2 separate regions of the Homo sapiens genome follow, and region 1 is linked to region 2. The links are contacts of gene promoters, found by promoter capture Hi-C in human tissues and cell types (Jung and others, 2019). All regions are on one chromosome and are shown on one strand. The core of a region is centred on a gene start or on the middle of the fragment in contact, and the rest is flanking DNA. Distances in the headings are between cores, read along the strand shown.

Evidence for each region. Contacts are between HindIII fragments. The study calls those that stand out against the background at their distance.
Region 1: a contact is called between a fragment that was not itself captured here and the fragment with the promoter of TMPRSS4 in region 2, in 2 of the 25 tissues and cell types used here (H1 embryonic stem cells and mesenchymal stem cells).

The regions. Positions count from the first base shown.
Region 1 is chr11:118,001,205-118,004,562 of GRCh38, forward strand. It overlaps IL10RA (interleukin 10 receptor subunit alpha), which reads left to right. Exons shown (of 7, transcript NM_001558.4): 7 at 1-279. It overlaps SMIM35 (small integral membrane protein 35), which reads right to left. Exons shown (of 5, transcript NM_001394165.1): 5 at 2,430-3,358. Among named protein-coding and RNA genes, the nearest start is that of IL10RA, 16 kb to the left of the region's middle. The HindIII fragment of the contact is 4,642 bases long and covers 1-3,358 here.
Region 2 is chr11:118,075,124-118,078,492 of GRCh38, forward strand. It overlaps TMPRSS4 (transmembrane serine protease 4), which reads left to right and starts at 1,955. Exons shown (of 13, transcript NM_019894.4): 1 at 1,955-2,182. The coding sequence starts at 2,180. All of the region lies in intron 1 of SMIM35 (small integral membrane protein 35), which reads right to left. RefSeq lists an enhancer at 1,810-2,405. The HindIII fragment of the contact is 5,819 bases long and covers 1-3,369 here.

The DNA of each region.
Region 1 (3,358 bases), core at 13-2,512, 75 kb before region 2:
ATTGGAGAGGCAGCATTGCACAGTGAAAGAATTCTGGATATCTCAGGAGCCCCGAAATTCTAGCTCTGACTTTGCTGTTTCCAGTGGTATGACCTTGGAGAAGTCACTTATCCTCTTGGAGCCTCAGTTTCCTCATCTGCAGAATAATGACTGACTTGTCTAATTCGTAGGGATGTGAGGTTCTGCTGAGGAAATGGGTATGAATGTGCCTTGAACACAAAGCTCTGTCAATAAGTGATACATGTTTTTTATTCCAATAAATTGTCAAGACCACAGGAATCGTGTGAAACTAGTCAGATTGCTGATGGCACATTGGCTCATGGAGGACTCGGTTGTTGATAATGAGGAGGGTAATAATGTGTGGGATGTGTGATGTCACTTTAAGGAAACAGGGCTGAGGACTCAGGCTTAAATCTGACAGACCCAGGGAGTCCTCATGCTACCTGTATTGTGACCTTGGGCCCATTACTTATCCTCTCCAAGTTTTAATTTCCCCACCTGTCACGTGGAGTTGACAACTCCCCATGAGGATGTTGTGAGGTGTAAATGAAATTGCACATAAAAAGTTTAACATGGTGCCAGGCATGTGGTACTATGTGCCACTAGCTGTCATTGGCTGTTGAGTCTGTAAAGAAAAATGGACAGCTTTTCTTGGAAACAAGTGAAAATGAAAGCGATAAGGAGTGTGCAGCGGGACTCTTTCAGAAGACAGAAAAGGAAGAGGTGGAAAGCACAATGCAACGTTTTGGATGTGAGTTCTGACAATGTGGAGAGAAGAACCTGGAAACCCCTCCTTTCCAGGAAGACAGCAAACTGGGCCTCCCTGGAGCTCTGTTCCCAGAGCCCTGTCCCTGGCTCCCCTTGCCCAGGAGGCATGTCCCAGTGGTGGTTCTCCTAAGTGCGGAAGCCATCTGCACTCTATTCTAGAAGCAGCCTGCTCCCTCCATGAAAAACCCCATGTGGGTTTGAATTTCTCCCCATGCTCAGCCCAGTGGGTAGAACAAACCCAGGCCCGCGGCCTGAGCTTCCTGGGTGTGCTTTTCTCTTCGTCCTACCTGAATCCCCTAGAAGGTGACTGGGGACACCTCACCTCTTTTCCCCTGTGTCATCTCCAATCTTGCCTCACCCAGTTCATTCTGAGAAAATAACTAGTTCTGAGGAAGTGCTGATCCTATCATCTTCAGAGAACTTGACTAATATCACGCCATTTCAGACCTGCTCAGGCTTTTGCCCTAGAGCCCTCCTTGTCAATATTGGAAAGAAAAGTAGTGTTGGTCACTTTCTCCTGGAAATGAGGTGTTAGCGATGGCTTATTCCCCATGGAAAAGGCCCCTAAGGTCTAAATATAAAGATTCAGAGAGTAAAAGGAATTACATTCAAGGAACTGCAGCCAGTTTGGTTGGATACGACAGATCAAAGAGCAGCTTGCAGGACAGAAGGAAGTCAGAAGACACAGCCCTTGGTGCAGGCCCTGCCTGCTCCGTTTCTGTGGAATGAGTAGGAGTTTGCGCTGGTTCATCTCTGCTTTGAGGCTGCTCTGTAACCACTCACCACAGACAGGCCCTTGGGAGAAACTGAGCGAGTCCTTCCAAGCAGCCGGGGCTGATGAGACACTTGCAGATTTCTTGGGAATTTGGATTACAGCCCCCAACAGAAGGCCCCAGCTGTTCTTCAACTGAGCAATCTCCTTCAAGGGCTTTTCCAAGCTGAGGAATGCGTAATGCTGTCTTTGTGTGAGCTAATGGAACTTCCTCTTAGTACAGAGAGGGGGTAAATGGGCCACCATTGAGTGAAGAGGAAATTCAATAAACTGTGTTTTCCCAACTTTGTAAATAGCTATAGTCAGGGTGTGCCTTGTCTACCCAGCATATATTCATCCCCCGGCCTCAGTGTTCACACTTTCACAGAAGACACACAGTCCCTAGGAAGCTGGGTCCCACCCCCAGAGCCCATGCTGCTCTGCTGGGTGGAAGGTCTCTGAGCCCCACATGGGAACAGCACAGCAAGGGAAGCTGTAGGCTGTGACCACCTGGGACCACTGACAGGTCTGCTGCCTAAGTGGCAGGTCTGGGCAGTCAGGGCTGATTTGATCAAGCCTCAACCTAGAGGACCCTAGATACTAGGAAGCTTGACTCATTCATTTCCTGTTGTGCTCATGGGTTAAAAAAGCAAACCCACAGTTTTGGGTTTGAAGTAAACCCCAATTTAAAATTAAATGCATTGTTATTAATGACACACAGCACATTTTCCCACTATCATCTCGATCCTAACTTCACTTAATTTCCCATAAACCTCCAAAAAGGGTTGTGGGACCCAATAAACACTCTGCCGAAGAAGGACTGGGTAGGATAAAACTTGTGTTTTAAGAATATGGCTCTATCCAAAGCATCAGACATGAATCAGAAAGGATGGGGCAGGAGGCAAAGAGACCTGGCTGGAGACTTTTATTGTAGTCAGCATTTCATTTTGTCAAAAAACATTACGAAGCACTTGTTATGTGTTGGACATGGTGTGCAGCCCTGGGTACAGAGTGGTGAACCAAACAAGTGTGGCTTCATGGAGCCTGTCATCTGGTTATGAAGATAAACACCAAGCAAATAAACACAACAAACGTATTACTACAATCAGTGATAAGTGATGTGAAAGAAACTAGTATTCCACATGAAGGATGAGGCAGGAGGCAGAGAAACAGGGTAGGAGGCTGTCTTAGGCTGGGCTACTATAACAAAACACCATGGACTGGGTGGCTTAAACAACAGACATTTATCTCTCACAGTTCTGGAGGTGGGGAAGTGCAGGATCAAGGTGCCAGCTGAGTGAGTTCCCTGGGAGGGCTCTCTTCCTGGCTTGGAGACGGCCTCCTTCTTGCTGTGGCCTTACACGGTGGAGATAAAGAACTCTGGTCTCTCTTCCACTTTCTTACAAGGGCACTAATCCCATCATGGAGGCCCCATCCTCATGACCTCATCTAAACCAATTACCTCCCAGAGGCTTTACCTCCAAATACCGTCACATTGGGAGTGACAGCTTCAACATGAATTTGGGGAAGACAAAAATATTCAGTTCATAAGAGAGGCTTATACAATAGTCTAATCAAATGACAGTATTGAGCAGGGGCAGTGGGAACAGAGAGAAAGGGACAGACTCAAAGACATTTTAAAGGAAGCATTATCAAGATGGGGCAACAGGCTGGAGTGAAAGAAGGAGGTCTCAGAAGTGCTAGTCACACTTGAACCCGATGATGAGAAAAGCGAAATATGGACATGGAAGGGAGACAGAGGTGTGGAGGGAGAGGGGAGATGATGAGTTCTGGCTTAATAATGACAAGTCATCCAAGAAAAGGTCTTTCAGCAATTGG
Region 2 (3,369 bases), core at 705-3,204:
AACGTGGCTCCCAGTGGCCCACTGGCTTCTCACTGCCCTGCTGCTGGGGAGGTGCCTGCCTGGACCATCACGGCCCTGACCCTGAGGTCACCTGAGATCACAGGCTCTTGCCTCTGCCCAAGACTTCCAACTCTCAAGGCCACCAGCCATCAGTAAGGAAGGGCTGGGGCTGTGCTGGCTCCAGAGCCCTGCAGGCCAGCTTCAGATCTCTGCTGCTCAGAGACAAGTCCAAGGCCACACTGCATTCATCAGCTGAGATTTGGCCAATAATCCATTACACAGATCCGGTATTCCTCCTGCTCAGACATCACTGGGGTCCTCCATGGGCCATATTATCCCAAACCATGAACCTGGGGCTTTCAAACACTTGTGTTCCATTCAGCCTGTTCACAAGCCTGGCAGTGTGAACCAGTAAGAGAACCAGGTTCCAGCCCCAACTCTGCCCGAAACTACTTCATGTCCATAGGCTATAGTTTCCTCAGCTGACAAATGGGAACAAAATATTGGGGTTGTTGTTGGAGAATTAAAGGGCTGATACACAGAAGCACGTTATCAACAGAAGGACAAATACACACGTCTAACCCAGGCTGGTCTCCTGGGAGGGTCAGGTCTGAGAAATGGAAGGAGATCTGGATTCATATGGAACCAGACACTAATTCATTATGTGACTTTGGGTCATTGACTTTGCCTCTCTGGAATTTAGTTTTGTCGCCCACAGAATGGGGGAACAATGTGGACAATTATCCAAGTCTCTCCCAGCAAAATATCTGTGGCTGTAAGGTTTCACCTTGCACATCCCCTGGCCAGGGGGCAGCTCCAGCTATCAGGATGTGGCAGAACGTGAATCAGAAATGATCCTGTGGGGCTGGGTGCGGTGGCTCACGCCATAATCACAGCACTTTGGGAGGCTGAGGCAGGTGGATCAGTTGAAGCCAGGTGTTTGAGACCAGCCTGGCCAACATGGCAAAACCCCATCTCTACTAAAAATACAAATTAGCCAGGCATGGTGGCGCACAACACCTGTAATCCCAGCAGCTACTTGGGAGGCTGAGGCAGGAGAATCACTTGAACCTGGGAGGTGGAGGTTGCAGTGAGCCAAGATCGCGCCACTGCACTCCAGCCTGGGCAACAGAGACTCTGTCTCAAAATAAAATAAAATACAAAAACACAAAACTTAGCTGGGTGTGGTGGCAGGTGGCTGTAGTCCCAGCTACTCGAGAGGCTGGAGCACGAGAATTGCTTGAACCTAGGAGGCGGAGGTTGCAGTGAGCTGAGATTGCGCCCCTGCACTCCAGCCTGGGGGACAGAGAGAGACCCTGTCTTAAAAAAAGAAAAGAAAAAAAGAAAGAAAGAAAGAAGGAAATGACTCCGTGGACGAGGAGACGTGGGCTCTAGCCAGAGCACCAATAGTGATTTTCAGAATATTGAACGGCTGCTGAGGCAGGGGCAGGAAGCACTAGTACATTGGCTCTGTGCAGGACAGCTTCACTTCTGGGATCCAGGGAAAGGGGGTACATCTTACCTCCCTAAGAGAAGAAACTCCCTCCTTCTCTGTGGACTTTCCAATCCTATTGCTCCACACCTGGCAATGATCTCTTTGTACTGAGCTGCAAACCCTGTCGCCCAACCCCCAGACCACTCCAACTTCCCACAACCCCAAACCAAAGCACCCACACAGTGAGAAGTCATGCACCTAGAAGGTAGGGGGAGGGGGGGCGGAAACTTCTGGCATCACCCTCAGCCAACACCCAGTTGGGTGGAAGTCATTCAGGCGGGAAGGCTTTTGTTACGCCTTAGGTGTGTCACCTGTTCTGAGGCCGAAGGTCCCATGAATGACTTCAGGTGTTGTTCCAGCCCCTAAGATAGGTGTCAGGTTACAAGACACATAATCATTCCAGTTTGGCAACTTCACTTGTAGGGCTGTTTTAATCAAGCTGCCCAAAGTCCCCCAATCACTCCTGGAATACACAGAGAGAGGCAGCAGCTTGCTCAGCGGACAAGGATGCTGGGCGTGAGGGACCAAGGCCTGCCCTGCACTCGGGCCTCCTCCAGCCAGTGCTGACCAGGGACTTCTGACCTGCTGGCCAGCCAGGACCTGTGTGGGGAGGCCCTCCTGCTGCCTTGGGGTGACAATCTCAGCTCCAGGCTACAGGGAGACCGGGAGGATCACAGAGCCAGCATGGTGAGTGTGGGGCCCTCTGCTCCCAAGACACAGGAAGGGTGGGTCTCCCCATGTAAGGCCCTTCAAGCAGCCTGAGCATCCATCAGCTGAGAATTCTGTGACACCTTCTAGGTTAAAAAAAGAGGCCACACCCAAATCCCCTCACACCCCAGCCCGGTACACGTCTCATACCCACCTGCCTTCCTCTCTTCCTCCATTGCCATGGTCCTTGGACCAGCTCACCTAAGAAGCTGAGCACAGAGCCAGGGCTGTCCTTCCCGACTATTCTTTCCTGAATCCTGCATGTTCTTTTGCCCAATGTCTCCAGGTCTGTTGGTTAGAGGTTGGCACTATTTTTCCAAGGCAGGGGGCTGTTCTGATGCCACGGTTGCCCTCTGCCACTCCCTGGGGAAACTGATTCCTTTTCTTTTTAAAGAAAAGTGTAGACTGGGTGCAGTGGCTCACGCCTGTAGTCCCAGCACTTTGCGAGGCTGAGGCAGACAGATCTCTCGAGGTCAGGAGTTTGAGACCAGCCTGGCCAGTATGGTGAAACCCCATCCGTACTAAAAATACAAAAAATTAGCCAGGCGTGGTGGCAGGTGCCTGTAATCCCAGCTACTTGGGAGGCTGAGGCAGGAGAATCGCTTGAACTTGGGAGGCGGAGGTTGTGGTGAGCCAAGATTGTGCCATTGCACTCCAACCTGGGCAACAAGAGTGAAACTCCGTCTCAAAAAAAAAAAAAAAAAAAAAAAAAAAAAAAGAAAGAAGGAAAAGAAAACAGTGCAGAGATGCCTCCAAACAATCTAGGGTGTTTGTGGTCATCTTTTACTTGGTCTCTTTTCATGCCCTCACCCTCTCTCCTCCTCCTCTGAATACCTGGAGCGTCTTCGCTGTCTTGGGGCAAAGAGAATCAACCCTATCTTTCAAGGAGGACAGCTGAGGGCCAGGGAGGGGAAGAGATAATAACTGGGTCTGAGGAGGAACCCAGGGGTCTTCCTTCTCCAGTCCTTGGCCAAGAGGCAGCAATTGCCCAGCCACCAAAGTGAAAGGGAAGGGAAGAGAGGAAAGGAGAAGCCACTGTCCAAGGGGGAAGGGTGTGACCTGCAGGGGCCCCTCGAGTGATTGTCTCCTATTCCCAACCTGAGCACTTCCCACGACACTCTTCTGAAAATTCTGGCAAGAACAATTCTTAGTGCGGTTGTAGCTGA